7 separate regions of the Homo sapiens genome follow, and all the other regions are linked to region 1. Evidence: promoter capture Hi-C in 16 types of primary human blood cells and fetal thymus (Javierre and others, 2016). All regions are on one chromosome and are shown on one strand. Each heading gives the region's core, a stretch centred on a gene start or on the middle of the fragment in contact. The rest is flanking DNA. Distances are from core to core; before and after follow the strand shown. Region 1 holds the start of EMX2 (empty spiracles homeobox 2). Region 2 has its middle 99 kb from the start of LINC00867. Region 3 has its middle 79 kb from the start of LINC00867. Region 4 has its middle 57 kb from the start of LINC00867. Region 5 has its middle 37 kb from the start of LINC00867. Region 6 overlaps FAM204A (family with sequence similarity 204 member A). Region 7 has its middle 49 kb from the start of FAM204A.

Evidence for each region. The method cuts DNA at HindIII sites, captures the fragments that hold promoters and counts their contacts. A CHiCAGO score of 5 or more calls a contact.
Region 2: a fragment that was not itself captured here is called in contact with the fragment with the promoter of EMX2 in region 1 in 2 of 17 cell types (non-activated CD4 T cells and endothelial precursors); the score reaches 6.6 in non-activated CD4 T cells.
Region 3: a contact is called between a fragment that was not itself captured here and the fragment with the promoter of EMX2 in region 1, in 1 of 17 cell types (endothelial precursors). The highest score is 5.5, in endothelial precursors.
Region 4: a contact is called between a fragment that was not itself captured here and the fragment with the promoter of EMX2 in region 1, in 1 of 17 cell types (endothelial precursors). The highest score is 7.0, in endothelial precursors.
Region 5: a fragment that was not itself captured here is called in contact with the fragment with the promoter of EMX2 in region 1 in 2 of 17 cell types (endothelial precursors and M1 macrophages); the score reaches 6.0 in endothelial precursors.
Region 6: a fragment that was not itself captured here is called in contact with the fragment with the promoter of EMX2 in region 1 in 1 of 17 cell types (M0 macrophages); the score reaches 5.2 in M0 macrophages.
Region 7: a fragment that was not itself captured here is called in contact with the fragment with the promoter of EMX2 in region 1 in 1 of 17 cell types (activated CD4 T cells); the score reaches 5.2 in activated CD4 T cells.

What each region holds. Positions count from the first base shown.
Region 1 is chr10:117,541,207-117,544,550 of GRCh38, forward strand. It overlaps EMX2 (empty spiracles homeobox 2), which reads left to right and starts at 1,540. Exons shown (of 3, transcript NM_004098.4): 1 at 1,540-2,467. The coding sequence starts at 2,062. It also overlaps EMX2OS. RefSeq lists an enhancer at 2,755-3,344. The HindIII fragment of the contact is 6,949 bases long and covers 1-3,344 here.
Region 2 is chr10:118,454,586-118,457,929 of GRCh38, forward strand. No RefSeq gene overlaps it. Among named protein-coding and RNA genes, the nearest start is that of LINC00867, 99 kb to the left of the region's middle. The HindIII fragment of the contact is 4,127 bases long and covers 1-3,344 here.
Region 3 is chr10:118,434,393-118,437,736 of GRCh38, forward strand. No RefSeq gene overlaps it. Among named protein-coding and RNA genes, the nearest start is that of LINC00867, 79 kb to the left of the region's middle. The HindIII fragment of the contact is 2,023 bases long and covers 863-2,885 here.
Region 4 is chr10:118,412,796-118,416,139 of GRCh38, forward strand. No RefSeq gene overlaps it. Among named protein-coding and RNA genes, the nearest start is that of LINC00867, 57 kb to the left of the region's middle. The HindIII fragment of the contact is 722 bases long and covers 1,364-2,085 here.
Region 5 is chr10:118,392,532-118,395,875 of GRCh38, forward strand. No RefSeq gene overlaps it. Among named protein-coding and RNA genes, the nearest start is that of LINC00867, 37 kb to the left of the region's middle. The HindIII fragment of the contact is 1,016 bases long and covers 1,161-2,176 here.
Region 6 is chr10:118,329,280-118,332,623 of GRCh38, forward strand. The region is part of intron 6 of FAM204A (family with sequence similarity 204 member A); the gene reads right to left. Among named protein-coding and RNA genes, the nearest start is that of FAM204A, 11 kb to the right of the region's middle. The HindIII fragment of the contact is 1,706 bases long and covers 610-2,315 here.
Region 7 is chr10:118,291,412-118,294,755 of GRCh38, forward strand. No RefSeq gene overlaps it. Among named protein-coding and RNA genes, the nearest start is that of FAM204A, 49 kb to the right of the region's middle. The HindIII fragment of the contact is 2,642 bases long and covers 427-3,068 here.

The sequences.
Region 1 (3,344 bases), core at 290-2,789:
TGACAGGGGCCTGGGAGTAATAGTTTTAAACGACGCTAGAATTTTTTTTTATCATTAATTGTAAACGTGCAAAATACCTGCTGGTACTTCACTTTAGAAGAATGTAATTGGCAAAAGGAAAAAAAGGAAAAAAGAGGCGGCTGATGAATAGATAATAGATCTTTAACCACCAATAAACAGAGAGCAGCGCCAGCAGCCTGGGGATGTGATCATAATTATGCCGCCGCGCGAGCCAATGGGGACGAGGGAACTCGGTCCTAAAATCATCCCAAAACCGAAGGCGAGCTCGAAAATGCGGACACGGCCCGGGACCGGAGATGCGATCCGTAGTCGTTAGTTGCACTGGGTTTGCACAGCAACCACCACCCCCCCACCAACCCCGGGACAACAGATGGCATAATAATAATAATAGAAATAATAATAATAAAATAATATCATCTATAATAATAATAACATTGACCACACTGACAAAAATAATTACGACGGAACCTTAATAGTACAGTAGCACCATATCGGGCTCTCCCCTGACCTTGGACTGCCGGTCCCAGATATTCCAGAAGGAATTGTTTTGGGGAAGGAGGTGAGCACCCTCCCAGACAGAAAACGCTAGAGACCGTGGGGCGAGAGAGGGAGAGAGTTGGAAGCCCACTGCTCCGGCGGGGTCGGCAGCTCCCGGTCTCAACTCGCAAACGAACGAGCCGGGTCAAGAATCGCGAACGCACCGACCCTGGGACCTCGAGGCTAAGCGTGGTTGATGGGGTGGGAGGACCCCGTACCCCTCACTCCAGGATCCCTCCTGGCCTAGGAAACCGCTGGGAGTTTTGCTAAGTGTGGGGATTGGTATAACCGAACGGCGCCTTTAGCCCGGGAACCAGCCCCTGCCCGCTTACCCTCGCGGTGCTCTTGGGGCGATCCCAGTTCTCCCGACGCGGGGCCGCGTAAGGCAGCAGCGGCGGAGCGCTAGGCTAGAGGAATCTGTCTGTCCTTCTGTCCTACCAGCTTGGGCGAGGCAGGCTCGGGATTCAGGGGGCCGCAGCGGAGGCGGCGCCGGCCAGGGACTCTGCAGGGACCGGGGTGCCCCGGAGGGAGTGGTGCTGGTGGAGGAGGAGGCGGTGGCTGAGGGGGAGTAGGTGGGGAAAGAGGAGGAGGAAGAAGAGGAGGAGGAGGAAGAAGAGGAGGAGGAGGAGAAGAAGAAACTGGAGGAAGAGGAGGAGGCGAAGGAGGAGGAGAAGCCGCAGCGGGCGCCGCAGGAGCGAGTGAGCTGGGAGCGAGGGGCGAAGGCGCGGAGAAGCCCGGCCGCCCGGTGGGCGGCAGAAGGCTCAGCCGAGGCGGCGGCGCCGACTCCGTTCCACTCTCGGCCCGGATCCAGGCCTCCGGGTTCCCAGGCGCTCACCTCCCTCTGACGCACTTTAAAGAGTCTCCCCCCTTCCACCTCAGGGCGAGTAATAGCGACCAATCATCAAGCCATTTACCAGGCTTCGGAGGAAGCTGTTTATGTGATCCCCGCACTAATTAGGCTCATGAACTAACAAATCGTTTGCACAACTTGTGAAGAAGCGAACACTTCCATGGATTGTCCTTGGACTTAGGGCGCCCTGCCCGCCTTTTGCAGAGGAGAAAAAACTTTTTTTTTTTTTTGCCTCCCCCGAGAACTTTCCCCCCTTCTCCTCCCTGCCTCTAACTCCGATCCCCCCACGCCATCTCGCCAAAAAAAAAAAAAAAAAAAAAAAAGAAAAAAAAAGAAAAAAAAAGAAAAAAAATTACCCCAATCCACGCCTGCAAATTCTTCTGGAAGGATTTTCCCCCCTCTCTTCAGGTTGGGCGCGTTTGGTGCAAGATTCTCGGGATCCTCGGCTTTGCCTCTCCCTCTCCCTCCCCCCTCCTTTCCTTTTTCCTTTCCTTTCCTTTCTTTCTTCCTTTCCTTCCCCCCACCCCCACCCCCACCCCAAACAAACGAGTCCCCAATTCTCGTCCGTCCTCGCCGCGGGCAGCGGGCGGCGGAGGCAGCGTGCGGCGGTCGCCAGGAGCTGGGAGCCCAGGGCGCCCGCTCCTCGGCGCAGCATGTTCCAGCCGGCGCCCAAGCGCTGCTTCACCATCGAGTCGCTGGTGGCCAAGGACAGTCCCCTGCCCGCCTCGCGCTCCGAGGACCCCATCCGTCCCGCGGCACTCAGCTACGCTAACTCCAGCCCCATAAATCCGTTCCTCAACGGCTTCCACTCGGCCGCCGCCGCCGCCGCCGGTAGGGGCGTCTACTCCAACCCGGACTTGGTGTTCGCCGAGGCGGTCTCGCACCCGCCCAACCCCGCCGTGCCAGTGCACCCGGTGCCGCCGCCGCACGCCCTGGCCGCCCACCCCCTACCCTCCTCGCACTCGCCACACCCCCTATTCGCCTCGCAGCAGCGGGATCCGTCCACCTTCTACCCCTGGCTCATCCACCGCTACCGATATCTGGGTCATCGCTTCCAAGGTACGTGCCACGTCGCGGAACTGCAGCGCGCCGCTCCCGCCGCATCCTTCACTGCCCCCGGCCTGCTCCGGGTGGGCGCTTGGCAAGGCCTGGGCGGAGGTTCCTCCGGCTCGCGGGCCAGCGCGCCCTGTTGGGAAACTAGGCGGCGCGGGGCCGGGCGTGGTGTCGATCCCCAGTCTCCGAAGCTACGACTGGTTTGGAGTGATGGCCTGCGGGCCGCTTGACCCTTTGGGAAGGGGTGCGAACGGAGAAGTTGTCCCCCAGTGCGCTCGAATCAGAGCAGGCTGGGCTGTGCGTGCCCGGCGCCGCGGAGCCCAGAGCCCGCGGGATCCCCAGGCTCCTGGTACCCTCGGCAATGCCCCCAACCGTCCTGGCTCCGAGGGGCGCGGACAGGACTCGGCCGCCAGGCTTGCTTTCGACTGCGTTCGACCCTGTTCACCACCCACTTTGCGCCCCTTCAGTCCAGACCCGCGGCTTCTTAGTCTTCCACCCTCTTCTGGAGGCGAGAGGATCCTCGCGCCCCGGGAGAAAAGTATGGGATTTGTTTTTTCTTTCCTGCTTTTCGGAGGCCTGGGGAGGGGCGGGAACCCGTGCGGGAGGAAAGCTCCAGGGCTTGGCGCTCTCGCCGCGACCTGCTTAATTGGGGCGCCGAGCAGCCACAGCGGGAAGGCAGGTTCGGTCTGGTTTTTGTTTTTCTTTCTTTCTTTAAAAAAAAAAAAAAAGAACCTGGTCAGGAAACTGTCTTAGAGGGAAATATCTGTTCGTGTGTTTTCATTTCTTGCGATATTTTTTATTTGTTTGTTTTTCTCTGGGTACGGGGTGGGAGGAGGAGAGTTAAAACTTCAGAAAAAGGAGTAATTAGTTTACGGATTGGAGT
Region 2 (3,344 bases), core at 626-3,125, 910 kb after region 1:
ACCACACACAAAAATCTTTTTTAAAATGGACCTTCTGCAATGGACCTCTGCTTTTATTTCGAGTTCCATCAAGAAGCACAGTGACAATTCTGAAGTCCACAGGGGCAAAGAGGTCCCCTGAGGCTACAACTGATTTAGGGTTTCTATTACTGGATTTCAATGGCATTTGTTTAAACTGGGCCCCTACACCAGAACCTTAGAAAAGTCCTCCTTATCCTTTATAAGCTCCTTTAAAACAAAATCAAAACTAAAGTATCTGGACATCCTCTGCTGTTTTCTTTGCAATGTCCTGCTGGGAGATGTTGTTCGTATGCCAGGTGCCACGCCTGATGCTTCTCCTCACATACTTTGATGTTGGGATATTCGTGTAATTCATAAGGGGGGTTATTCTAAAGAAATATCCCTTATGCTTTCAGGACATATTTTTAAAAGGAAAAACAAAAAAAAGCAACTTCCACTTACCCCAAACCACCATGAAACGTTTGCTAGCTTTGTGTCTTTCTGGCTGGTTGGTTACTTTTCAACCCAAATCCCTACTATGGCCTATCCAGTATAGTAGGGTTTCCTATTGAAAACTCTGTCATTTTCGTAGTAGAATTTTAAATAGGCCAATAGTAGGGTTTCATGTTGAAAATTCTGCATTGCATGGTGAAAATTCTCCATTGCATGGTGGCAGAGAGATCCCTACCCTTCTCCTCTCATGCTAAAATTCATTCCCGTCCCACTGGACACACTTGTCTGTCTGTCCCCAGATGTTTACCAAGGACCAATCACGTTCCAGAACAGTTTTGGCCTCTGGGGAACAAGTTGCACAGCCACGGGCCTCCTTTCTTTTCTCCTAAAAGGCTTCGGGTGGTGCAGGCTAATCTGCAGTGTTGAAGTCGTTCCTGTGTTTCTTTCTTTGTGACCTGGGTTGCTGGATAACACTGCAGTTAAGAATGTGGGCCCTGGGGCCAGGCTGCCTGACTTTGGGTTCTGGCTTTGGGATCTCAGACAAGTCACTGAGATCGGCTCTGCCTCAGTGGACTCATCTGTAGGGTGGGGATACTAAAGTTCCTACCTCCTGGGGTGAGTGTGAGAACAAATCAACACACAGAAATAAATTTGTTGTGAAAATAAATCAATCCACATAAAAGCGCTGAGAAAGTGATAAATGTTCCGGACAAGTCAGCAATTTGCTATGGAAGCAGAAGACACAGCCATCGGCTCCCAGGCGGCCAGTGACTCTCAGGCCTCCCCATAATGTATCCCTCTCTTCTCTCCTCCCCTTTGCAGCCCCCTAACCCTTCTATTGTCATTCTCACCTTCTTCCCTGGTCTACTATTTTCTTTTACTTTCCGATCATTCACTTCTCTTCAACAACCCAAAAAAGAGCATACACTCTAATCGCGTAGCTTGCTTTTTAAAATAATTTCTGTTGAACATAACCTGAGAGTGTTTCCTCTCACATACAGGGCATGAGACTTTCTGGCCTCTCTCTTCTCTCCTTCTAAAGAGGAAGGCTTTCTTCTGCTCAGCCCCTTGTCTTGCTTTTGCTGAGATGAGGCCAGGGATGGAGTCGCAGGGCTGAGAGCAGGAGACTCTCTCTGTGCCAGGGAGGGCTGAGTTTTGGCTGGAAAACAGCCCCTGAGGGGGGTGGGGAGAAGGGAGCCAAAGGGACAAGAGAGGCTTTGGGGAACTGGTGTGGGGCTGGAGTTTTGAAATTAAAAAGGGAGAAAAATAATTTGGGGTACTTCAGAGAGAGAGGAATAGAGGCTATTTTAGAAGTTTGGCTGCGTGTGTGTGTGTGTGTGTGTGTGTGTGTGTGTGTGTGTGTGTGTGCAATTTCCCCTCTATTGCCTTTCAAGAAAGAGTGCTTCAAGGATGTACACATTACCACCAGGGCTTTCAAAATTGATTCGTGTTTCTTTTGGATTCTGTGAGCAGGAAGGCCCAAATGTATTCGGGTTACAATTACAATAGGAGCTAGCACTCACTGAGCACCCACTGTATCCCAGGTACCAGGCTGGGGGCCTCATTAGGCAAAGTCTCTCATCCTCAGAGACACTGTGCAAAGAAGGTAAGCTGATTCCTTTTTTACTGGAATTTAGTTCCAGTGAAGTTAAACAAAGTCACCTTGCACCACCCAGCTAATGAGAGACAGAGTTGGGATTTGAACCCAAGTCTGTCTGATTCCAATGCCTGGAGTCTTTCCACCACTTCACTGGATCTGAGCATAAGCCTTTAGAGTGTATGTTTAAAATGTTCTGTTTATTATTATTACTACTTTTTAAAATTTCAGTGGCATGTCTAATGTAATACCATGTGCATTCTAGAATGTGTTGTCCTTAGCACCTTTGAAGTCAGATACCATCTCACGGTTAGTGGATGCTGCTGGTCATATGGTTATTAGAGTTTCATATCAAAACTTCCTATCCAGGTGTCAGAATGAGACTCAAAGAAATTGATAATTTTTCAAATATTTTATTGCGTGTGTACATACTGCCAGAGAAAGAAGGGCTCTAAGGAGACTGTTTAAGATTTTAGTGCAGCTACTCAAAAATAAGTACATAATGTTTTTTGATTTCTCAGAGGCCTAAAAGAATAGTAAACAAATCGTGCAGCCAGCATTTTAGAGCGTACTACCTGGGAAAAGCATTGTTTGTTCATAGCAAATATGTAACCACAAAACACATTAAAATGCAGGAAAATCATCTGACCAAACAAAATAACGATAAATCAGCTTGAAACTTGTTGCCATCACAGGATATTAAATACGCTCATCTAGGAAAGAAGATGCATTAGTCACCGACCGAACTGTGCACATAATTAAAGGGGTGGCCACACTATGATATATAGGTTGGATCTTCTAATTACTTAGCTGTAGCAATTAGGATTTTCTTTGTATTACACTTCTTCAGGCCAAAGATGCCTTCTATCGCTCGGGCCAGATTTAGGAGAGCAAATTCTGGCTTCCATCCCATTCCCCATTGCCATCCCCCAGCTGAAGCTGTTCTAAACTGGAGATCTTAAAGGCAAGTCCAATGCTGTGAGGAGGAGATGAGAGGAGAGTCACTGTGATGACCGCACTTGATGTCTCCTGGAAAGACCACTTTGCTTGGGGTCTCTTCTCCATTTCAGGAGGCCTGTAGCCTTGGAGACGTGGAGTTCTGTTTTCATCGAATACAGTAGCTCCCAGACATTACTAGAGAAAGATCAGAAGGGGCAGGAGCTAAATAGAAATATATATCACATTTTTTAAACCTGAGTAGTCCATAACAGTATTATTTTTTACAAAGGCTTTAGGAGGCCATTGCAGCAGGAACAGGAAGGGGAGCACATCTATTATTTATCTAATGCATTCC
Region 3 (3,344 bases), core at 624-3,123, 890 kb after region 1:
CTGCATATTCTCACTCATAGGTGGGAATTGAACAATGAGATCACATGGACACAGGAAGGGGAATATCACACTCTGGGGACTGTGGTGGGGATGGGGGAGGGGGGAGGGATAGCATTGGGAGATATACCTAATGCTAGATGACGAGTTAGTGGGTGCAGCGCACCAGCATGGCACATGTATACATATGTAACTAACCTGCACAATGTGCACATGTACCCTAAAACTTAAAGTATAATTAAAAATAAAAAAAAATTAAAAAAAAAAGAGTTTTTCAATTCTTTCTTTGTGTATTGATCTATGCAAGACTTCTTGTGCTCATTTTCAAGTTTTAAATGATCAGAATTTCATTTACTTTATCAGGTTTCAAAATTGACCATACTGAGGCATAATATCGCTATTTTAATATTACATTTATTTTTATTATGATATTTTTCTCATTTAGAATTTTGTTTCTCAACTTTTCTTCCCAATTACATTTTCTGGAGGTTCTTCTAATATATTAATCTTTTAAAAGATTGAGTGCTCTAATTTATCAACTCTTCCAGTTTATATTCATAATTTACTTGTTCTTGCTTGTACCCTTATTATTTTCTTCTACTTATTTGCTTCAGTTTATTCTTTTCTGTCTTGTCTACAATCTTAAAATTAGATATTATGCCACTTTGTCTTTCTTAAAATTGGGGCATCTAATTTAAAAGTCTAAATTCAGTTATTAGAATGTATACATGTTTATATCTATATGGGTTTTTAAATTACCATTATTTTCTTGTCTGCTCTTAAACCACTTGTGGGTATATTTAATGTATATATAAATCCTGAGATATTTAGTGAAGTTTTAACAAATTATAGTTTGGTGATTTAAAGCTTATTGAGATCTTTCTTTGTGGAAGTATTTTGTATTCAGTTTCTAAATATTCTGAGGATACACAAACAAGGACTGTTCCATGGTTATAAAACAAAAATCTAACACATATTTATTAATTCCTCCATTATTTATCTTTTTAACCTCCTCGAAGTCTTTTTGTCTACTTATTTGGTATTAATTTTAGGTTTTGTTTTTAAGTATTTTATGCCTTTGTTAATTGTCTTTTGTCTTTGGCTTATCCTTGTCTTCCTTCATACTTTGTTACATGAAAGTCCATGTTACTGTTATTAATTACCTGGGTCCTGCTTTCTTTTTGTTCCATTGCAATACCTCTTTTCCTGTGCTTTTGTTTTACTATATTTGTGTATATCTATGCTCCTTTTAAGGTGTCTCTTCTCTTGAATTACATAATTGATTTTGATAGTTTGCCTCTTAATGCAAGCAAGTTTGAGCGTTTATGTTTATTTTTAATTAATTAGCTAATTAATTAAACCAGTCATTTGAAACCTACTTATTTGAAGACCCCTATGTGCCAGGCAGTACTCTAAATGCTTAGGATGGTCATTATTGCAGTGGAATAATTACTACTATGTGATTTGTCTTTTGTTATTGATATGGTTTGGTTCTGAGTCCCCACCCAAATCTCATCTTCTAGCTCCCATAATTCCCAAGTGTTGTGGGAGGGACCCAGTGGGAGATCACTGAATCATGGAGGTGTCTTTCCCGTGCTGTTCTCATGACAGTGAATAAGTCTCACGAGATCCGATGGCTTTAAAAATGGGAATTTGCCTGCACAAGCTCTCTCATTGCCTGCTGCCATCCACGTAATATGTGACTTGCTCCTCCTTGCCTTAGACCATGATTATGAGGGCTCCCCAACCACACGGAACTGTGAGTCCAGTTAAACCTCTTTCTTTGTAAATTGTCCAGTCTGGGGTATGTCTTTATCAGCAGTATGAAAACGGACTAATACAGTTATCATGTCGTGTATTTTTCATGAAATACACAAGTAAAAAGGTCATCAGATTTAAAATCAACAATGTAATTCAATCTCTCAGCCTCACTGAGCTCCAGTTTCCTATTTGTAAAATGGAACTATCAATAACACCTACCACAACAAAACAAGCCCCTACCTCTAGCTTGTGTATATCTGATATACATTAGGGTTACTCTGATTGGAGATTTCATTTTCCCTTTTTGGCCTATAGGTTAAGTCACATCTCTGTGGATAGGTACAGTTATTACCGAAAACACTTGATAATCATTCTTAATGCTATATTTGACTATATTTATTGTTAATATTTTTGGACTGATTTTTATGGCAGACAAAGACTGTTGGCATTTTGAAATTCCCTCCTTTTCCTTCATTCATTCACTTTTTCATTTATTTAACCTAAAATCCTGAAATATCTCTATTTTGCTTCTTCAGTTTTCTTGACTTAAAGAGTTTTTTTTTAGTTCAGTGGTAGCTTCAACTAGTTAAACTTATCAGTAACAACGCTTTTCTTAATATGTGTTGCTTATTTACTTTTCACCATCTATTAACCTATGCTTGTTACATCCACCAACATCCTTTAAGAAAAAGGGTTTGTGAATTTTACATGTTCTAAGACAGCTATTCTGAGAATGCCTTTTAGTTTACTCTATATACTGACCCTAGTCAACTGCATATACTTCTATGACATCATCATTCTCTTCATACTGAAGTCACTCAAATCTATATCTGCAGCCCAAACCCATTGATTTTACCATCTGCCTACAGGATATTTCCCTGGCATGTGCCCAAAATTTCCCCCAAACTGCTGCTTCTTCTGAATTCCCCAGTCCAGTTGTTCCAGCAGAAACATCAGTATCAACTTCAACTTCACACTCTTCCATTCCTTTCCTTCCATCTGTGTCTTAAATATCTCTCAAGTACATTTGCTTCTTTCTAACTCTATTGCCACCACCCCGGTCCAAGTTACCATCATTTCTTGTCTGAACAACGGCAACAAGGTCCCTACTCATCCCTCTCCCACCAAGCTTTATTCATATTTCATTTATTCTCCCCTGCACATCCAGAGGATTTCTTAAATGTAAAACTGTTTCTCATCCTCTTAGTTGAAACACTTTGGTAGCTCTCCAGTGTACTCAGGATAGAGTCAAGAGTCCTTAATGTGGTTTGTCCACCAAGTGCCCACCCAGCCTTGCTTCTCACCATCCCTCTGCACTCTCCTACTCTACCCCCTTTCCCTGGATGATCCCTTCCCATCCTTCCAGCCTCCGTGTTGCTACCCAACCCCAACTCCACCCCTGGCCCTAACATCACACTCAAAACCCTCCATGTTTCCTGAGCGCTCTAAGTTAAATGAATATATGAACTTCTGACTCAGTTGTCTTTATGAATGAAACACATTCTTTAGCCACATTCTTTCTCCTTGAAATGCGATTCCACCATGTCTAATTTTGATCATTTAAATGGGAAAGGATAAAAACCCTC
Region 4 (3,344 bases), core at 475-2,974, 870 kb after region 1:
CATGGGTAATGCCTGTATAAAAGTCTAAATGAGTGACTCTAAGCTATAGTCTGTCTTTCTCTTTGTTCTTTAAGAAAATATTCACATCTCTCCAACTAAATTAACATATATTATCACAAATGTGTCATTCTCAAATTTCCTGAGCTTGGCTTATCACTCACCGTTCTTTTTTTTTTTTTTTTTTGCTCATGACTGTCTTTCTGAAAACAAAACAACATTATTCACACCAATAAGTGTAACAGGCACAATGGGAGAAAGTGCTGGAAGCGACTTCTTTGTACTTATCGGGGTGACCTCTCACTCTTGGCGTTTCCTTTCTTCGCCTCTCTGGAGTCACGTCTCTGAGAAGGAACTGTGGAACTCTATGTTCCATTAATGTCCCCACACCCATTTGTCCTCTACACGCCCTTTGTGCTCTGGGAGAATTCAGCATCCAGGCAAAATCTAACTCCTGACTTTATTCTGCAGCTGACAACAGTGTATCTTGTTTAAAGAGAAATACTCGATTCCTTTCATTGTCTTAATTCATAGGTGGTTTAAATGGCTAGAGAAAAAGCCTAAGTCTCCTGAGCTTGAATAAAAAATAAAATGAACCATTTACTTAATGCCCCATTTGAAGCCACGGGCCCTTTGGAGAGTTTGGCCAGACCATTTGTAAGATTGGAGATGGTATTTGCATACATTCCCACACCTGGGAGTGAATCTGTGTAATAGACACTTGGATATATACCAGTGAGAAATACAAGTTGGGAGTGTCTACCAGGGAGGAGATCTCAGCCCATACTAAATTCTAATTCAGGTCAGGAAAACAGAGTTCCCTAGCAAGATTCCTTTTATATCCAAATTTAAGATTCAGAACCAAAACAGCAGAGAAAGAGAATTCAGAATTTTCTGTCTAATGCCAGTGGGATACTAAGAGTATTACTTTCAGATTCACCATTTAAAGCAACTTACCACTAAAAATATCTTCTGATGAAATGGAAACTGAACCCCCTACCAGGATATTAGAAATTATGCAGAAACAGGTTATAGTTTTCTGACTTTATTAAGATAGATTTCTTTGTGTGACCTGAGAGGCAAATACCATTGACACAAGTTGCTAAATGCTTACGGATTAGGATAATGACACGAAATAGCTTGAGCTCTGCTATTTTTGCAATAGACAAATTTAGGTATAAAGCATATTACTTATCTTTGCCTGATGTTTATATTTCTCATAAACTTTTCAGTCAATCTAATTTTTTAAATCAAAATATAACCAAAGCCCTAGAGGTTGCTCAGGTTAAAAATATATTTTAACTATGACTATCATAGGAACACTAGTGACCAAAAATGTATTTTACCAATGACTCCCAGAAATCTAAGCTTTCAGAATTTTCAGAACCACCAGAATAGAAACAGACTTTGGTGGACCCCGGATTTTTATTTTTGTTTTTGTTTTAACAAACCCCACCTCTTTCTCCAGCATCTTATCAGTACATGCAGGCCATTTATGATTTTTCCTACATATTCATTCCTTTCTCGGAGAAATTTAAGACTTTATTACCAATTTTGGTGGATATTCTGTCTAACTTTTATGTTGGACAGGACTTAAGAGACCCTGAGCCAAATGGGGCCCCTGTTTCTGTTGCTTCCAGACAGTGAAGGACCTGAAGGCTGAACTGGGGTGTGTGTGTGTGTGTGTGTGTGTGTGTCTATGTGTGTGTGTCTGTGTACATGTGTGTGTGTTGGGGTGGGGGCAGTTGCTCTGTCTTTTCCTTAAATTTTCTTATAAGTCACCTCTAATGAGCAGAAGTTGTATGCAAACTCCCTAAAGAGAGGGCAGGTAAATTGTTTCTTAATTCTGCTCAGCCACCACGGATCAACATTTATTCCTCTGGCTCAAAAATTACAAAGTTGGTTCATGCCTGGATGCTTAAGCCTGTGGGGACTCGAGAACTCTAAACCGTACTGGGCCTTGACAGGCAGAATGTCTGTAAAATTACTCTGAAAACATTAAATCTTCATGGCTGGGAGATTAAGACTCTCTTCCTCAGTGTAGGTATTTTTTAGTACAGAGTGTTAAAATCGACTTGCCTTTGTTAAAGCTTCCATGTTCCTACGGTTTCCACCTAAGCCAGTAAGGAGACATAGGGATGTATTTTTTGGTGCTAGAACACTGTAAAGACCGTGCCCGTATCAGGGGCACACACAGAGCTTTTCTTGAAATAGACTTTTGGTGTAAGCCTTTTTCTGAAATAAGGCTTTGGGGAAAACAAAAAGAAAGAAAAAAAGCTACCTGCTCTGATTAGGCTCACAAAGAGACTACAGTACTCCACATTATCTTAAGAAAAACAAAAGCCCGAAAGCACAGCCCACAGCCTTTCCATCAAGTAGCAGGCATTAAAGTACATTAGCTCTATCATTTGTATGTCTATAAATATCAATAAAGTATGTGATTTGGCTTCACTTTCACACAAAGAAGGAGGACTATCCTTTTCAGGAAATTTCGCAGAGACACTCACCAACAAAAGTTCAGTAACTTAATCTTTGGAAAGCTCAATAATGCTGAGTTCAAAATTGCAGGTTTTAAACTAATGTACCTGATAAGTGCTGATGGCAGAACTAAAGCGAGCCATTATTAGGTAATCCAATATTCCCAATCCCGGTTATCTGTAACAGAGAAGAGCCTCCCTAAAACAGCAGTAATGTGTTCACATCTACATTCATCTCTGAAGTCAAAAAGAGGCATTCTTCATGGGCTTTATCTGTTTCCAAATGTCTGCCTCCACAAGGAGTGATTTCGCACTGCTGAGGCAACTATGCAGATGACTCCAATATCTTTGTCCAATGGGTGCTATTTCTTATGGCTCTCCGGGACTCTGTCCTACAGGCTGGACTTTCACAGCTGTCTGGCTTTTATGTTGAACAGAACTTAGAGACCCTGAGCCAAATGGGGCCTCTGCTTCTGTTGCTTATAAGGGGTGGGGGAAGTTGGTCAGGGTTTTTTTCTCTTCTATGTGTCATACTGCTTCCAACTTTTCTCCAGCACAAGTTTTCCCTTGCAAGGTGTCATGGTGCCTATGGAGAGGGTTTGTAGAGCATCCCTCATGCAAATTTATTTGCACAGGGCCGCTTATCACTGCTGTTGGTTTGAAACATCTATCTTGTTTCTCCTGAGTGGCAGATCCTACTTCCAGAGCTGAAATAAACATGGTCCTCAAACTATTCGTTATTCAGTAACACTTTAAGAGATAAGGTGAAAAAAGGTAAAACTTATTCAAGGTGCCGCATTTGTCCTGCCTCCCTCCTATGGCAACATGGACAGCGACTCTTTTATTACATTTGTGTGTTGCACAGTTTTA
Region 5 (3,344 bases), core at 419-2,918, 850 kb after region 1:
CTCCCTAAAGCTCATGAGGAGGTACATTGCATCCCCATTTTACAGATGAGAACGTTGAGGCTCAAAAGTGAGGTAAACTTGTGTGAGCCCTCGCTGCTAATAAGCATCAGAGTTAGGATTCAGCTGGTGCCCACCCTCTGCTGGTCCTTAGCTCTTGAAGGCCTGTTAGCCTTTGCAACGTCCAAATGCAAATACGTCCAAAAGGTCAAATGACTCCTCTGCATTCCTGAATACCAAGAGTCAGTGGTTTCCTCTAGGAAGAAGCCAGAGGCAACGCTTGTTCTGCAGACCCCAGAGAAAGAACCAGACCCCACACCCAAGCAATAAATCCAAGGGGCCTTTTCTTGCTTTTGGCGCTGACTCTTTGGCAAGTTACTTCTCTCCTTGCAGTGTGACCTAACCTTCCACCCTTCCCTGGCTCCACTTAGGAGCTCTCACTAAGACATCTGTTGAGGACAGCCCCCGAATGAGTTTCAGATTTGGTAGTTAAGCTCTTGGATGTCATGCTCTCATTCCCGGCTCTATCCACAAGGGAAGTGAGCAACAGGCCTCTCCGTCTTAAAATTTGAGATGAAAATAATAGTCTGTTGGGCAGAGCCTGTGAGAGCCTATAGAAATACTTCCCCACCGCCTTGATTATAAACAAGTAAATGTCCACTGGCATTCTGTACATTGACAGCACGTCCATATCCAGAAAATATGTATGACGGAGAGAAGATTTCAATTCTGAGGCCCAGAGCCCATTGTAAAACGCATACATACAAATTTTCTTTCAATCATTTTTCTCTCTACTTGCTGGGAACTATTTACAACTGTGAAATGTGAGAGTTATTAGGTACGAATTTTAAAATTCTTCATTTCACACATGAGGAAACGGAGGTAGACAACTGCCTTGCTATATTGTGTATACATTATGTAAAGATTTAATTAACATTCTATTTATGTAAGAGAGAAAACCTTATTGTGGCTTAGAAGAATTACTTAGTCTTTTAAACTTTAGCTTTTAATAAAACTTTATTACAAAACCTTTGCATTAAATGGGATCTAGAGCAATCTGCAGATATTTCTAGGCTGTTAGGCAAGGAAACAAGGATATTTGTATCCTTTCCCTGTATCTATGTTTAATTATTGACTTTAAATCACAAGGGATGGAAAACGGAAGCTTTATGACATACTCAGGTCATTCTAAGAAAAGATTACACATAGAAATCCAAACTTTCGAAGCAGATACATTAAGGAATTATTCTGTACAGTACAAGTAAATTACCTGCCTTATAAAATTAATCATTTTATTTAGCATATGTAAAAATTATTAACATCAAAAATATCTATGTAGGCTATATGACTAAATTTAGAAGGGAGGTACACCAGCACCCAGTTATAAATATAAACATTAAGAACTTTATTAATCCTAATATGATACAGAGTCTTATCTTCTAATTTATTTGTTTTCTTAAAGTTCAATTATTATTTTTTTAAATCCTTGAAGTTTTTGTTCAGTAAATCATACCTGTAATCCTGTTTGGTCTTAGAAAAGAAAGACATAAAACTACTGTTTCAACAAAGTGTATTCCTGAGCCGCAGGCTAAGCTGAAATCCATATTTTACTGTCAACAGAGTTAAGGAGATGCATGATCTTTATGGCATAGAAACTCTTTCCTCATATCCTTGTCATCAAACTGTCATGAAAACTATTTCATGCTATTGTGGGTCAAGATAATTATTATATGCTTTTTCTCAACTTGGAAGAACTAATCATATTATAGACCTATCAAATTGCACATATATTATGAGGAGCATTTCTCAAATGTTTCATACTTAAAAGAAACTTCTAGAAGTCCAGAGGTTGTTTGCAGAAGTTCAGTCCTCCGCTAGACCTCTCATTTCCCTATCCTCCCTCATTAGAGCCTGCAAAGGGAGCCCTACTCTCCTAAGATTATGAATAAACAAATGATGGGTAACAGACTGATCCCAGATGAGAGCATTTCCTTCAGGCTCTCGTGTTAAGATGATAAATGGGTGGACCACTTGGCCTTAAACAAATGACAGAGATATATTACAACTGATTATGGGGTATTTTCAGTTTTGTTATATGTGTCCACTCTTGACCCTCTAGATACATGAATAAAAGAAAATTTATATTATCTCTGACATTTCAAGACAAAAGCTCTAAGGAAGCTTCCTCTATTGGACTTCCTGCTTTCAGCAGTAGTAAAACAGGGTGTGGTTTTATTAAAACAACAAAAGCCTGCATGGCAGAACTTTCTGCCCTCCTTTTGTATTACAAACAATAGATAAAACCAGATTCTAATTCAGTCTTTGCCAGTGATTATTTCCCATGCCTTCTTAGCAGACGCCAGGTATTCATATTTTTGTTTCTGTTCTTACTCGATTGCATGGTCATGTTTGGAGCAGGAAGGGGGATATTTTAAACACATTTAACCAGGTCTTCAGTTTGGGGTCAGAAACGTGCTGCAACTCCCACACCAGTCTGCAAACATCTGGCGTCCCAGATGGGAGCAATAACAACTCCGCTCTTATTTTCATAACTGCATTGCAGAAGATGTTCACTGGTTTCCTCCTCGGTGAGTTTAATTCACACCAAAATTTTAAGGAAGATTAGAAAAAGAGAAAAAAAAAGAAATGAAAGAAAACATTTCTGACAGCACAGAGAGTTGGGTTTTCATGCTCCCATTGTACAAAAGATTCTAAGATAATTATAACATATAACAGATCTCTTAGGCTTATTTTGTGAATCAACTCAGCTATATATTATTTTCTATGCCAAAGTTTTATACGCACCACAAAAATGCTATATTTTTCGCCCAGATTTAGGTATTATGTTTTTCTTTTAAAATGATTTTTACCAGTTAAATGGCTTTGTTGTTGTTGTTGTTGTTTTGTAAAAACCAGTTGCAAATCAAGCCACATAGTAGAGTTGCTTTCATTCAGCCTCACTGGAAATATTGACATTAAAAGGTGCCCTGTCTATTGCATCACCAACACTTTTCAACAGCTGCACTAAGGAGGAATAGTGTTATCTTATTTCTTGCTTCTTCCCTGAGATAATTTTCAACAGTATTGTCCAGATTTGCTGTAGTCGTTTTGCTGCCGAGAGGTTGTAAACAAATCAGGGACCCACAGGGAGACTGGCAGCTCCTGGCTGAGAGGAGTCCTCAAGGGGCAGACCACAGGATCACAGATCCAAAGCTGGACAAGGCCTGGAGTCACCAGCACAGTGATCTTCATTTGCAGAGGATAAACTAGGGGCAGAGTCATGTCTGAACTCAGGACTAGCAGCCTAGCATTCCTGAAAAGTAGACCACTAAATGCAAGGGCTGCGA
Region 6 (3,344 bases), core at 213-2,712, 790 kb after region 1:
TCTGAAACAGGCATCATGTCATTACCCAGCTTAAAGCATTACTTCATATTCCCTCTGAATAACATCCCACTCCCTTCACAATGGGGTCCCCAGATGCTTTCTCAACCCCATCTTCAGCAATTAAAAAGCTATGCTTTTTAATCTCTGGTCACATTTACCATTTTCCTAATGTTCCCTGTGCCTCTGATGTGCTTCTCTTTGAAAAATATTAATCATCCCTTTAGGCTCACGTCGAATGTTACCTTCTCTATCTACGCAGAGCTCCTCAGCCCTACATTCCTATGACCCCATCACCCTCCCCAAACCCCACACCAGGCTCTCCACTCTGTGCTGTTGCTGTACCTTGTGTCCCTTCAGCACCTAACTTGTCTGACACACTACAGTGAGTTGTGTATTCTCCCCTCTTGAGTCCTATACTCAGTGAGAGCAGGCTGTGTGTCACCGGCTTGGTGTGTCCCAGAATCCAGCCCAGTTCCTTCTACATAGAAGACATTTGTTCAGTCTGTGCTACTGAGCTGATATTCACACTGCCGTCATCCATGTTTGCATTCATAGTGAAAGGACCCCACTCAAACTGGGAACATTTATTACATACCAACTACTCTGAGAAGCTTCCAGAGAATTCACAACTGTAATATTGAAGTAATAATGCCCCTATGGTTAAAAAAAGGTACACGTATTGTACTCATTTATATATACATCTATCCTGGTACTAGAATATATACATTCCTCAAGGGCATGGAGAGTATCTTCTCCATCTTGGGCTCCCAGAGCTTAAAATAGTACCTGCACCTAGAACTTTATTTAATTTTTACTGAAAATAGTTATTTTCTTTAAAAAATGTAAATACAACAGCCTCATTTTCCTGTGCAGAATATTAACCATCGCCTCAAATGTCACTGACACATATTTGTATGTGTCAAAATCTATTTGTATAAAACATTAATATCAAACTACAAGTTTCCTTGCACTACAAATTCTTGCATAGCCTGATACCTCAACTCAGAACTTATCCAATCTCACGCAGGGAAGCAATCAAACTAGACCTGCTCCAACCATTCATCTCAACAACCTGCTCACTAACAGCTTCCATTCTTTTGCCTGTCCATTCCCCCAGCCATTAAGATCATAATCTAAAGGTAATAGCATATTACAGTGGAAAGAGCACAGGACTAGAAGACAGGAGATGTGGTCAAAGCTCTGGGTAAATGACATACTTGACTCATAAGCCTCTGTTTCCTCAAAGATAATAAGAAGACTGGCTTGAATGAGTAACCCTCCTAGAAATAAAAATTCTAGGTTTCTATCACATTTTCAGCTTTGTTTTTAGCCCTTTTCTCTTTCTGACAATTTATTTAAATAAAATGTACTACCTTCTTTTAGCTCTGAAAAACTCCTGGTTCCATGTACACCCAAACTTTGTTTCCATAAGAACTTATTAATATTCCAAATACACTCAAAACACTTAGTAAAACATTCCCATCTCCTTAAAGACTGTAAGTTCACAGCAGCTCACAAAGAGCACAGCTGGCAGGATCAGACCTAGGTTCAGACTAGCTCCTCCACTTATGAACTAAGCAACCCTGAGTGAGTTTCTAAACCTCTGTGGGTTGCAGTTATCTTACACATGCAATAAAATGAGAATAAAACCACATTCTCTGCAAGATTATGATGAGTCAAAGAACATATATATAGAATACCTAGCCACGTTTTTAGAATATAGTAGTCATTCAATAAATAATAAGGTGCTCCTATTATTAAACCTAAATATCAGGATACCATTATTGCAAAAGAGAAGGCTTATCTCTATAAGGCTACAGACTGCATTATACTTCTTCAAGCTCAGACCCAAGTACAAGACCCAAGCATTCCACTTTGTCAGTAAGCAATCTCATGAAATAGAGTCTGAGTATTAAGGCTTTTTGAAAAGTTTTAAGCTGGACTCAAGAGTAGCCTTTATTTGACTTATCTAGAATGTCTTCCATACTATAGGAGTGGCAGGAGGCACAGAGGAGCTACTGATAGCCTGCAGCACCTTGGTGTGCTTCTAAGTTGCCTTTTGGCTAGAATCAAAACATAATTTATGATATATCTCAACACAGACAAACCTAGGAATGGCAATTTGGCCACAGGTGAAAAATTTATCTAAACGAAGTATCTAACCCACGAGGCAACAATTGCCAATTAATTAAGTTTTAATATAGATGTCAAGAAGACAGGACTACAAATATCTAAGAAATGTATGGGTACTTGGTTTAACATTGTGGGCTAACATCTATATGTGCATATGTAGAATATCTTTTATATGTGGTTAAAGCTTTTAAAGTCAAACTATACCACAATATATTTATATGAAAATTCTGCTATTAAATATTTATTCTGTTAATATATTCAATTTTTAAAGCTTAACACAAATGAATTATCCATTGAAGTTTGCATTACTGAACCTAAATATCTAGGAAAAAATGAGGCAATCTCTTCATAAAGAAAGGCAGTGGAGGGGCGGAAGAGGTACTTTCATACATAAATGTAAATCATATATTTATTCATAATTTTGTTACCTTTATATATATATATATATATATAATCATACCCACTTAAAATCAATTGAGTCGGCTGGGTGTGATGGCTCATGCCTATAATTCCAGCACTTTGGGAGGCCAAGGCAGGCGGATCACAAGGTCAGGAGTTTGAGACCAGCCTGGCCAATATGGTGAATCCCCATCTCTACTAAAAATACAAAAATTAGCTGGGCATGATGGCGCACACCTCTAGTCCCAGCTACAGGAAGCTGAGGTAGAAGAATGGTTTGCACCTGGGAAGTGGAGGATGCAGTGAGCTGAGATTGCACCACTGCATTCCAGCCTGGGCAACAGAGCAAGACTCTGTTTCAGAAAAAAAAAAAAAAAATCATATGAGTCAGGTAAATAAAAACCAGGTTCAGAAAAAATCTAGATTTGGGACCAAATGACTTGGGTTTAAAGTCTCATTTCACTTCTCACCTGGTTTGTTTTCTTAGGCAAATTATGCTGAGCTTCAGTTTCTTTATCTGTATTCTGAGAATAACACTGGACCTATCAACCTACCCCACGGAAATCACACAGGAACCAAGAGGCAATGGTTTACAACTGATACCAGGGGATCTTCATGGTACCACTACAACACTCCCCATACCTCTCTCACCACACCCCTAAACCTCCCTCTCCTATACCTCCTCCCTCCACATCCCTATGCCCCTCCCTCCACATCCTAATGCCCCTCCCTCCACATCCCTATGCCCCTCCCTCCACCCACTCAAGGAAGCCAGCCTTTTAACTGATCTATGTATTGGAGAACCATGTAAG
Region 7 (3,344 bases), core at 498-2,997, 750 kb after region 1:
AACCATCACCACTGTCCAGAAGATTTCCATCCCCACTAAAAAAAATTCCAGAAGATTTCCATCCCCCTAAAAAAAAAAGAAAAAGAAAAAAAGCCCTGTACTCATTAGTAATTAAGTCCCCATGCCTGATTCCTCTTCCTCTGGACATTACTTTCTGTCTGTACGCAATTGCCTACTCTGGACTGTATAAATAGAATCATTACAATATGTGGCCTTTTGTATCAAGCTTATTTAACTTAGCATAATGTTTTCGAGGTTCATCAATGTTGTCACATACATAAGCACTTAGTTTGTTTTTATATCTGAATAGTATTCCATTGTATGAATATACTGCACTTTGTGGATCCACTTATCAGTTGACAGACGTTTAAGTTGTTTCCATCTTTTGTCTGTTGCAAATAACGCTACAATGCATGTTTATGCACAAGCTTTTGGGTGAACACCTGTTTTCAGTTCTTTTGGTATCTACCCAGGAGTGGAATTACTGCGTCATATGGTAACTCTTTAACTTTTTGAGGAACTACCAAACTGTTTTCCACAGTGGCTGCACCATTTTATGGTCCCACTAGCAATATATGAGGGTTCTAGTATCTTCACATCTTCACCAACACCTGTTATTGTCCATTATTATTATTATTACTATTATTATTAATCATAGTCATTAAAGTGAGTGTGACCTGGTGTCTCATTGTGTTTTTGATTTACGTTTCCCTAATGACTTGCCAGGATTTATTCCTGCATATTCCTCATTCCCCCCAACTCCTACTTTTTGTCTGTGCTATATATATATGGTCAGATCATAGAGCTAGTACATATTACAAATGTCCTTTGCTCTTTATTCTCAATTCCACACGTCTCCATGTATAGAGTGCTCACTATCAGTCATGACCATGTCTGACATGGTCTCCATGGGAACAGAGAGATCACATCAATGTCTCTTCAGTCTGAAGTTCATTCTTTACTAGATTCCTTAGGAAGAGTTCATGGAATAATTTTCCCTATATATTTGCATGATAATAATAGTTCATGTATGAATTATTTTTGTATCTGAAGATCAGTTTTGATAAATTAAAATCCTTGGCTCACATTTTCTTGAGTATCTTAAGTATGCCACTCTGTTACTCTATTTTCTTATGACCCAAAGCATTGCCTTGAAATGTCTAACGATAACTAATTTTCTTTCCCCTTTAAGTTACAGGCTCTTTTGTTAGAGATGCCTTTTTTTTTTTTTTTACCAGCAATTTTACTAGTTTACTGCAATTTGTCTTGGTGTTGGACAAGACCCAGTAATTACATTACAGTATGGTTTTGTGTTCATTATTCTGGGTAACATTCTCAGGTACATAGCATGCTTTTTCAACATGTGTTTTCAGATCATTTTCTTTCTGATTTTTGAAAACATTGCTTGAAGCAGAGTTTTTAGTAGTTGTTCTGTTTCCTTGCATTAGATTTCCTCTTCGGTACTTCTGTTATCTATATTTTGTCTTCTTTTTTTTTTTTTGAAATTTTTCTTCTTTTCCTTCCCTATTTCTCTTAAAATATTACTTGCCATTTATTTCCTCTTTGTTCCTTCTGGATTACTCTTCTTCTAAAATTATTTTTCTCTGTAGTTTTTTTCTTGCATTCTGTCGCCTCATTCCTGAGTTTTTCTAATTCTGATTTATGCTGTTCTTTCACAGCCCATGTCATTTTCTAATGTCTTTTAGCCTGTTTTGAAGGGGTGCATTATAATTTCTGTGAGCTTTATATTTTTTTCACTGCCTGTAGGAATGTCATTTGGCTTCTTATTCTCTTTTAACTTTATGTGGCATATTTTTGCTGTTATCTACATGTGACTTTAGTTTTCCTAAACTTGTAGAAGGAAGATTGGCTCAATGAGCTTTTCTAACTTCACAGGGTTCTGAATATTCTCTCTCTCTTTCTCTTTCTCTCTGTGTGTGCGCGTGTGAGTGAATAAATATGTTGGCTTGCTTTCTGTGAATTTCTGGCTGTTTCCCTCTGTAACTGTACCCTGCACCTTCCCTTTCCTTCTTCATCTCTGTTATCCCTAGTCTACTCACTTCATTCTCAGTTTTTAGGAGCTCTGTGGACTCCATTTTGAGAGTTCACAGGGGCCCGGCTGCTCCAGCCCCTAAAGGTTTTATTGCGGGTGTCTTGCACCCACCCTTTCAGTTTTACCTGTTCCCAAATTGTGTTGCTCTGCTTCCCCGTGCATATCTGGTGTCTATTCTGAAGCTATCCTGCTCTCCAGCACATACCTGGTGGCTATTTGGAAGTTTTCTCTGATCTCTCAGATGCCCTGTTGCTTACCTCTGCTTTCTCCTGCAGAGATGCCAATTATAGGCAGGTCTCGAAGTTGTCAAAAAGTTTTCCCCAACCACTTGAATGTTGGAGTTCATGGTTTGGGTGTCTAGTTGCTATGACTTTTTTTTTCTTTAATGTGGAGATTTGGAGAAATCTAAGAACTATGTTGCCGTCATCATCACAATCTTGTGGAGTTCACTAGTTTAATGGGTAAGCAAAGAGCCTAGGGGGAAAAAAGGATAGAATAGGACAGGCACAATTAACAGATTTGTGGATTGTTTATATATGCCAGCAAATTTAAAACAACAGTCCTCTTGAAAAATTTTTAAAGTGAAGAATTAGTGAGGTTTTATTCAAATCTGTATATTTGGTTTCTCCTTAAAACAGAAGACCTGGTAATACTGGGCCTCTGTGCCTGGCCTACAAATCCCTACTCCACACATGTTCTCATTTATGTTATTTATGTTATCTGTCTGTTGCCTGAAGGCTCTGGGGTTAGAACCTCCAGTCTAGAGTAAAAGCCACCATGCCCATGTGATTCAAAGCTCAAGAACTATGAATGAAACACAAATTCTAAACAGACATGTTAGCTCATCATAATTTTAAATTCCTCAATTAATTTTACCAAATATATACATATATAAACTTATTTTCTAATAAAGTGTGATTAGAAAGTAAGGTTGGCTTATCTATGTAAAAAATTAATGAGTGCTACTGTCACACACAACATGAGTATATCTCACAAGCATAAGATGAACAAAAGAAGCTTGACACAAAAGGATCTCAGATTTCAAGATTTCATTGATATGAAGCATAAGAACAGGCAAAACCCTCTAGGATCAGAATGGTGGTTACCTCTGGGTGGAGGTGGTGATTGACTGGGAAGAGATATTAGAAATATCTTGATCCAGGAAGAGGTGGTTTCATGGGAATTACCTATAAATTCATCAAGCTAAGCACTTAAGATTGATTACTTTTGCTGTATATATATTAAAACTCAATAAAAATTTTTGACTGTCATTTTAAAACCATGCTACAAA